3 separate regions of the Homo sapiens genome follow, and all the other regions are linked to region 1. The links are contacts of gene promoters, found by promoter capture Hi-C in human tissues and cell types (Jung and others, 2019). All regions are on one chromosome and are shown on one strand. The core of a region is centred on a gene start or on the middle of the fragment in contact, and the rest is flanking DNA. Distances in the headings are between cores, read along the strand shown.

Region 1 (2,743 bases), core at 77-2,576:
GCCCTCTCGGTCAGCCTGCGGGAGCCTCTCTTCCCTACATCTCAGCCTCACTGTCACCTCGGCCCTGCTGAACAGGTGCCACCCCCGCGAGCAGGGTCTCAAACCAGCTCACTCTGGAAGGCGCTGGGAGAGGCTCAGACCAGCTCACTCTGGAGGGCGCCGGAAAGGGCCCCGGCCTCACTCTGGAGGGCGCCGGGAGGGGCCCCGGTCAGGGCAACGCTCGCCCAACCTTAGGAGGTTGAGGCCGTCGCACCCGTGTTCCCCTGGGCCCCCACCCCTCCCTCCAAGAGGCCCAGAAGCACAGGAGGAAGGTCACGGGGCGTCCCTCCTACCTGTCCCTCAGGTTGTCGATGAAGCGCTTGGTGAAGGACTTGACTTTGTCCACGAGGGCCCCGTAGGGCTTCAGCCTCAGGGCCACGCTCTCAGAGGTGTCCAGCACAAAGAACAGGTCCACGGGGCAGTCTGGCCGAAGATGGAGGAGAGGGGCCTTCAAGCTCTCGCCCCATTCCCCGAGTCTCTGCTGGGCCTGCCCTCCCGGCCAGCCCAGCGCCTGCAGCACAGAGCCCCGGGCCCGGAGAGGCTCTCCCGGGAAAAGGCAGCAGGACGTCCCTCGGTGGGGACGGTGGGGAGGGGGTGGAGTGAGAGACCCCAAACCGCTCCTGTGCCTCGAGGGGAGTCAGAAACCTTCACAACCTCCCCCGAAGGGCAGGGCGTCCCCGGCACGGGACCGGACAAGTGAGACCTCACGGGAAGGTTTCTCGCTGGATTCAGAACCAGCAGCGCACGACTTCTTCTAGAACGGGGGTCGGGGGGGCCGTGCGTCTGGACTCACTGCCAGGTGAGGGGTCAAACGGATTCACGGGGCGCCGAGACAGCCCCGCACCAGCTCCCCCTCGCCAGGGAGCCCCTCCCGAGCTGCCTGCGGTCCGGCCCCGCTGAGAATGCTGAATGCTGAGCCTCTAGGGGCCCCGGCCAAGGCCCGGTGGGGCAGAGCTGGGCGCTGCAGCCGCCCCGAGCGGGGAGTGGGGTTCAGGGGCTCCAGGCCCCCAGTCTGCAGTTCCACGCGTGGGAGGGGACCCCGCGCATCTGGCCCTGGCCGGCAGCAAAGAGCGGGGGGTCTGGAGCCTGCACCCCAAGCCACCACTCACCCTGGAAGGCCACGGCCCTCGGGGTCTCCGGCTCATCCTGCGCGGCTGTCCAGCAGGCCTGCAGCAGCAGGGGCAGCAGAGCACGGGCCGCCCTCATGTCTGGGGCCTGCGGTCACCACACAGCGCGGCCAGGGCAGAGTGGGCCGCCGCCGCCGCCCAGAGACCGAGGCTGCCTTCTGCTCCCAGCCAGAGTGAGAGCGGAGGGCAAGGAGGGGAGGGGCGGGGCGAGAGGGGCGGGAGGGGAGGGGAGGGGCGGGAGGGGAGGGGAGGGGCGGGGCGGGAGGAGAGGGGAGGGGAGGGGAGGGGCGGGAGGAGAGGGGAGGGGCGGGAGGGGAGGGGCGGGGCGGGAGGGGAGGGGCGGGGCGGGGCGGGGAGGAGCGGCCCATGAGTCACCACCTCCTTGCTGGGGTCTCTCCCTCCAGAACCGGCAGCAGCTCCGAGCCCAGGGAGAAGGCGGTTTCCCTGGCTGGCTCGCCGCGGCCTGCAGTTCAGTTCCCGTGTCAGGGAGGAGGAAACTGCAGCAGCTGAATCAAACGTCTGAAAACCAGCGTGTCACCCAGGGAGAGTTCCTTGAAACATCTTTCGGTAGTTTCCAATCCAGACGTCTCCATGCGGGACGCACGGGCAGGCTCACTCGCCTCTTCCCACCAACCGCCTCCTGCAGAGGACCTCGCCGTGAGCTGAATTGTTGCTTTATCAGATCTCCGCGTTCTTTTTTCACGTCAATATTTCTTCACAGTATAGTCGGATACGTATTTGCCAAAGATATTTCAGTTTGTACCGTGGGAAGACAAAGTTGCTCACAATATAGTTGTTATATATGCTGTGTGTGGAGACAGAGAGACAGAGACAGAGAGACAGAGAGAGACAGTGAGAGAGAGACAGAGAGACAGAGACAGAGAGACAGACAGAGACACAGACAGAGGAGAGACAGAGACAGAGAGAGAGACAGAGACAGAGAGAGACAGAGAGACAGAAAGACAGAGAGAGACACAGAGAGACAGAGGAGAGACAGAGACAGAGAGACAGAGACAGAGAGACACAGAGAGACAGAGAGACAGAGAGACAGAGACAGAGAGAGAGACAGTGAGAGACAGAGACAGAGAGACACAGAGACAGAGAGACAGAGAGAGACAGAGACAGTGAGAGAGAGACAGAAAGACAGAGACAGAGAGACAGACACAGAGAGACAGAGGAGAGACAGAGACAGACAGAGAGAGACAGAGACAGAGAGAGACAGAGAGACAGACAGAGAGAGACAGAGAGAGAGACAGAGACAGAGACACAGAGAGAGGAGAGACAGAGAGAGACAAAGACAGAGACAGAGAGACAGAGACAGAGAGAGACAGAGAGGAGAGACAGACAGAGACGGAGAGACAGAGACAGAGAGACAGAGACAGAGAGACAGAAAGAGAGACAGAGAGAGGAGAGAGGGGCTGTCCCTGATATCACCTGGGGGTGGGCTCCAGATGTGGCCAGATGCATCCCTGGCCCACAGAAGGTCCCAGAAGAGCTTTCCCAAAGCTGGAGCTGCTGAGACTTGCCTAACACCAGCCTAAATGTCTTATAATTTTAAAACGTACACAAATTGTTCA
Region 2 (2,700 bases), core at 88-2,587, 89 kb before region 1:
GTTGGAGAGATTACAGCTGCAAATCCTAAATTCAGGATACTTACAGAAGCAGAGGCTGACGCTCACCTTGTCATTCTAGCAGAAACTAAACATTGTCACTGGTTTATACATCTGTGATGCCACCAGCCTGCGTATTTGGTAACAGTGAAGCCGCATTATGATTCAAAAGAGATCCTCTCCCACTTCACCCACCACTCAAGTGGTTAGGACTGTGTATCAGTAAGAACTATGCTTTTTGGGGAAAAAAAGAAAGTTAATCTTCATTTTGGCGTATGAAGAGGTGAGGCCTTCTCCACCACCATGAGCAGGTTAGCGCCTTATAAAAGGGCGGGGGGAGCCTGCGTGTGCCTTTTGCTTTTCTGCTGCCATCTGAGGACGTGGCACTTGTCCCTTTTCCCCTTTTCATTCTTCCCACCGTGTGAGGACCCCCAGGCAGCACCTTCCATGAGAAATGGGCCTTTGCCCATTCACTGAACTTGCAGGGGCCTTGATGTTGGACTTCCCAGCCTCCAGAGCTGTGAGAAAATAAAGTTTTGTTATTGATAAATTACCCAGTCTCAGGTATTTTGTTATAGCAACACAAGCAGACTAAGAAAATTCCTCTCCTTCTATTCATGAACTTACAAAAATCATGTTCACAAGTGGGCAGAGCTGTGGCCAGAGCCCAGGACTTCTCACTCTGACTCCAGGGCTCTCTTCACGTCACTGCTTGCCTTTTGTTGGCTGGAGCGCTGTGATCTCAGCTGCTCGGGGGTCCAGGGGCTCATGGAGAGTTTGGCTCCTGCCCCTCCTCTGTGGGTTCCTCCACGCACTTGTCCTCTTGTCCTCTCTTGACTCTGCAGGGCTTCACCACCACCTAGCGTGAGCCACACCCACGGAAATCCATGCCTTCCTCCCAGGTGCCAGGTTCTCAGGGTCTCTCGTTAACGAGAGACCCTGCAGAGGCGTGCAAGCCCACCCAGGGAGCAGATGCCCATGTTATCAGTGCCTTCGGTCCCGAGAGGGGTTCACACTGAGGATGAAGGCGTTCAGGCCTGTGGCAGGGAAGGTATTTGGGGCAGTTGCTCTTTCATGGAATCGCAGAGCAGGTTCACCTGCACAGCCCTGGCACCTTCTTGCTTCCAAATCCACAGCGCCTTAGCGAAATACAAGCTCATCCAGTCCTCAAAGAGTGTTAACTTTCCACCAACAGGTGTACTTTTAAAAAAGAAGGGTGCCGCCAACCTAAAAAGACACGGCCCACAATGAGCCATCTGAAAGATGACTGGAGGCTCTGCTTTTAAAGAAGTTGTCAATCAGTCGATCAGCAAGCCAGCCTTCTGTTGCAGACGAAGAAATGCAGGAGCTTCTGGACATGCTGAGAGCGCACATGAGTGGCCAAGAGAAAGGCGGGCTTTGGAGGGGTCCTTGCTAACTCCTTCAGGCACTAATTTCTTTTTTTCTTTTTCTTTTCTTTTTTTTTTTTTGAGACTGAGTTTCACTCTGTTGCCCAGGCTGGAGTGCAGTGGCGCGATCTCGGCGCACTGCAACCTCTGCCTGCTGGGTTCAAGTGATTCTCGTGCCTCAGCCTCCCAAGAAGCTGGGATTGCAAGTGTGCATCATCACACCCGGCTAATTTTTGTATTTTTTAAGTAGTAAGTTAAACATGGGGTTTCACCATGTTGGCCAGGCTGGTCTTGAACTCCTCACCTCAAGTGATCCACCAGCCTCAGCCTCCCAAAGTGCTGGAATTATAGGCATGAACCACCGTGCCTGGCCTTTTGGGCATTAATTCTTGAAGCCACTGAATTAATCGTTGGCACATTTATTCAATTTAATCCGGCATTTCTGATGCTTGAACTTTACCATGTACCAAATGGTTACCCTTTTCCCTCCATGTAGTCGGGGAAGCAGTCTGTGAATTTTCCAATCATTCATTTGTTCCTTTATTACACACTCAGACAACAATTATTGAACACCTTTTCTGGGCCATGCCCCCTCTCGGGTCCTGCAGAGGTGCCAGTGAGAAGGACGTGCAGGGCCCTGCCCGCTGGGCTGGCCTATGACCTGTGTGACCCTCTTGCCCCTGCCACCTTTCCCAGGGTGCCGTGCTCCGCCAGCCTCCACGGCTCCCTGCAGGCCAAGCGCCTCTGGCCGCCCCCTCAGCTCGGCCCTGGGGGTAAGCGCTGCCATCTGGTCTCTATTATTTGGGGCCTCAGCGTCCCATGGATGCTAGCAAGCTTGGCTCTGCGGCCCCTACCTCTGCGGCCTACAGAAAGTGCCATCGCTGAGGGTCTGAGGGGAGCCCCCCACACCAGTGCGTCTGTGATGGCCTCGGAGAGGCTGTGTGCTCCGAGCCACCATGTGCTGCATCACCCTCTGGTTGACTTTCTGGATTCATTTGTTTCTCACGAGGTACAATTCTGAAAATGCTTCACGTGAATTCCAGGGTCGAACAGATCAGTAAGGAGACGGTGGGTGGCATGAAGCAGGTTTCTCCTGACTGGAGAGGAAGCGTTAGACACACAGGGAAGGAAGGCGAGAATGAGCCCTGTGGTACCGACTTAGAGTTGGAGTTGTCACTGCGAAGGCACGTTCAGCACTCCCCCCACCCCCACAATGCACACACACCCAGTCACACATGCATATACATGTGTGTGCATACACACACACCCAGGCACACATGCACACACACGCACATGCACACACCCAGACACACAT
Region 3 (2,700 bases), core at 197-2,696, 99 kb after region 1:
GATATATACTCTAAAATGCTACTGATAAAATAAAATTCCAAAAAAATGTACACTGACTCACAGGAAGAAAGAAAAAACTAAAACCAGAGAAACAAAAAACAAAGCCAACAAAATTAAAAATGAGGCTGGGTGCGATGGCTCACGCCTGTAATCCCAGCACTTTGGGCGGTCAAGGTGGGAGGATCACTTGAGCCCAGGAGTTCAAGGCCAGCCTGGGCAACACAGGAATACCTAGTCTCTACAAAATATAAAAATAAATTGGCTGGGCATGGTGGTGCATGCCTGTGGTCCCAGCTGCTTGAGAGGCTGGGGTGGGGGGATCACTTCAGCCCAGAAGAGGCTGCAGTGAGCCATGATCACACTACTGCACTCCAGCCTGGATGACAGAGTAGGGCCCTATCTCAAAATAAATAAATACAAAAGATAAATAAAAGGTGAAATGGCAGATTTAAGCCCTAACATCTCAATACCGTAATAACTTTAAGTATAAATGGTCCAAATACACCAATTGAAGCACAGATGGGCAGAGTGGATTTAAAAATATGACCCCATCATATGCTGTCTACAGAAAACTCACTTCAAATAGAACAATATAAGCAAACTGAAGATAAACTAATGGGAAAAGGCGTATCGTGCAACCATTAATCAAAAGAAAGCAGGAATGGCTATATTAATATCGGAAAAAATAGACGTCAGAGCAATGAAAATGATCAGAGACAGAGAAGGACATTACATAATGATAAAAGAGTCTAAATAAGCAATAGCAATCCTAAATGTGTATGAATCAAATAACAGAGCTGTAAAATATGTGAAGCAGAAACTAATAGTAGTGAAAAGAAAAATATAAAAATCCACAACGACAGCTGAAGACTTTATTACTGTCAACAACTGAAAGAACCACTGGGCAGAGAATTAGCAAAGGATTTGGAAGGACTCAACACCATCAACCAACGGGGCCTAACGAACACTTCCGGAACACTCTGTCCAGCATCAGCAGAATCCACACTCTCTTCCTGCATGTACAGAATCTATACCAGGATAGACCATACCCTTGGCCATAAAAGAAACCTCAGCAAATTTAACAGAATTGAAACCGTAGTGTATGTTCTCTGACCACAGCTGACTCAAACCAGAATCAATCATGGAAAGATAACAAGAAAAGTTCCAAGCACTTGGAAATGAAACACATATATGAACAATCCAAGGGTCAAAGAGGGAATCTCAAGGAACATCAAAAAACACATTGACCTGAATGAAAATAAAAACACAGCATATCAAAAATCGCAGGACACAACTACAGCAGTGCTGAGAGGGAAACCTGTGGCACGAAACACACACATTTGAAGAGAGAAAAGCTTCCAATCAATAATCTAAGCACTCATTTTAAGAATCTAATAAAAGAAGAACAAAATAAATCCAAGTAAGCAGAGGAATGAAATACTAAAGACCAGAACTTGGCGCTGGTGTAAGAACGACATGCAGGCCGGTGGAGGAGAGCGGAGAGCCTGGCAGGAAACCCCGCAGCTGCAGCCAATCCATCTACAATAAAGACACCAGGAACACACACGGGGAAGGACAGTTTCTTCAATAAACGGTGTTGGGGAAACTGGATGTCCCTGTGCAGAAGAATGAAATTAGACCCTCATCTCACACCATCTATAAAAATCAACTCAAAATGGGTTAAAGACTTAAATGTAAGATCTGCAACTGCAAAACCACTAAGAAAAAACACAGGGAAAAATTCCACGACACTGGTTTAGTTAATGATTTTTTTTTAAATATGGCCCTCAAAGTACAGGCAACAAAAGCAGAAAGTAGAGAAATGGGATTATATCAAACTGAAAAGCTTCTGCACAGCAAACAACAGAGTGAAGAGACAACCTAGGGAACTGGAAAAAAAACTGCAAACCATACAACATCTGATAAGGAGTTAATACTCAAAATGTGTAAGGAACTCAAACAACTCAATAGCAAGAAAACAAATACCAGATTTTAAAAAAATGGCAAAGAAACGGAATGGAAGCTTCTCAGAAGGAGACATACAAATGGCTAACAGGTATATGAAAAAGTGCACAACATCACTAATCACCAGAAAAATGCAAATTCAAACCACAATGGGATATCGGCTCATACCTGTTAGAATGGCTATTATCAAAAAGACAAAAGCTAAGTGTTGGTGAGGAGGTGGACAAAAGGGAACCCTTGTACAGTGCTGATGGGAAACTTAGTACAGTCATTATGGAGAACGGTACGGAAGTTCCTCAAAAAACTAGAAATAGAACCACCACAGGATCCAGCAGTCTCACTTCAGGGCATATACCCAAAGTCACTATAGTGAGGAGACACATGCAGGCCCGTGTTGATTGTGGCACAACTCACAACAGCCTAGATATGGTGGAATCAGCCTAAGTGTTCATAGAGAGACGAACGGATAAAGAAAATGTCACACACAGACATACACACAGAAAGAAGCCATGTCATCTGTGTCACTGCGGATGAACCTGGAGGACATTATAACAAGTAAAATGAACTGGGCACAGAAAGACAAATACTGCATGATCTCACATGTGGAATCTAAAAAAGTGCATCTCACAGAAGCAGAGGGTGGGAGGTGGCTGTCGGGGACTGCGGGGGGTTGGGGGAAATGGGAGCTGTTGGTCACTGGCACAAGTTCAGTTAGACGGGAGTCAAACAGGCTGG

Evidence for each region. The method cuts DNA at HindIII sites, captures the fragments that hold promoters and counts their contacts. A contact is called where the count stands out against the background at its distance.
Region 2: a contact is called between a fragment that was not itself captured here and the fragment with the promoter of COL6A1 in region 1, in 5 of the 25 tissues and cell types used here (H1 embryonic stem cells, heart left ventricle, mesenchymal stem cells and 2 more).
Region 3: a contact is called between a fragment that was not itself captured here and the fragment with the promoter of COL6A1 in region 1, in 3 of the 25 tissues and cell types used here (lymphoblastoid cells, mesenchymal stem cells and mesendoderm cells).

What each region holds. Positions count from the first base shown.
Region 1 is chr21:45,980,353-45,983,095 of GRCh38, reverse strand. It overlaps COL6A1 (collagen type VI alpha 1 chain), which reads right to left and starts at 1,326. Exons shown (of 35, transcript NM_001848.3): 1 at 1,149-1,326; 2 at 333-462. The coding sequence starts at 1,245. LOC105372841 (a long non-coding RNA gene) reads right to left here. Exons shown (of 3, transcript XR_937803.3): 3 at 1,530-1,806. RefSeq lists enhancers at 1-705, 706-1,568. The HindIII fragment of the contact is 42,283 bases long and covers 1-2,743 here.
Region 2 is chr21:46,069,474-46,072,173 of GRCh38, reverse strand. It overlaps the pseudogene PSMA6P3. Among named protein-coding and RNA genes, the nearest start is that of COL6A2-DT, 27 kb to the left of the region's middle. The HindIII fragment of the contact is 8,195 bases long and covers 1-2,700 here.
Region 3 is chr21:45,881,659-45,884,358 of GRCh38, reverse strand. The region is part of intron 5 of PCBP3 (poly(rC) binding protein 3); the gene reads right to left. Among named protein-coding and RNA genes, the nearest start is that of PCBP3-AS1, 47 kb to the right of the region's middle. The HindIII fragment of the contact is 4,995 bases long and covers 1-2,700 here.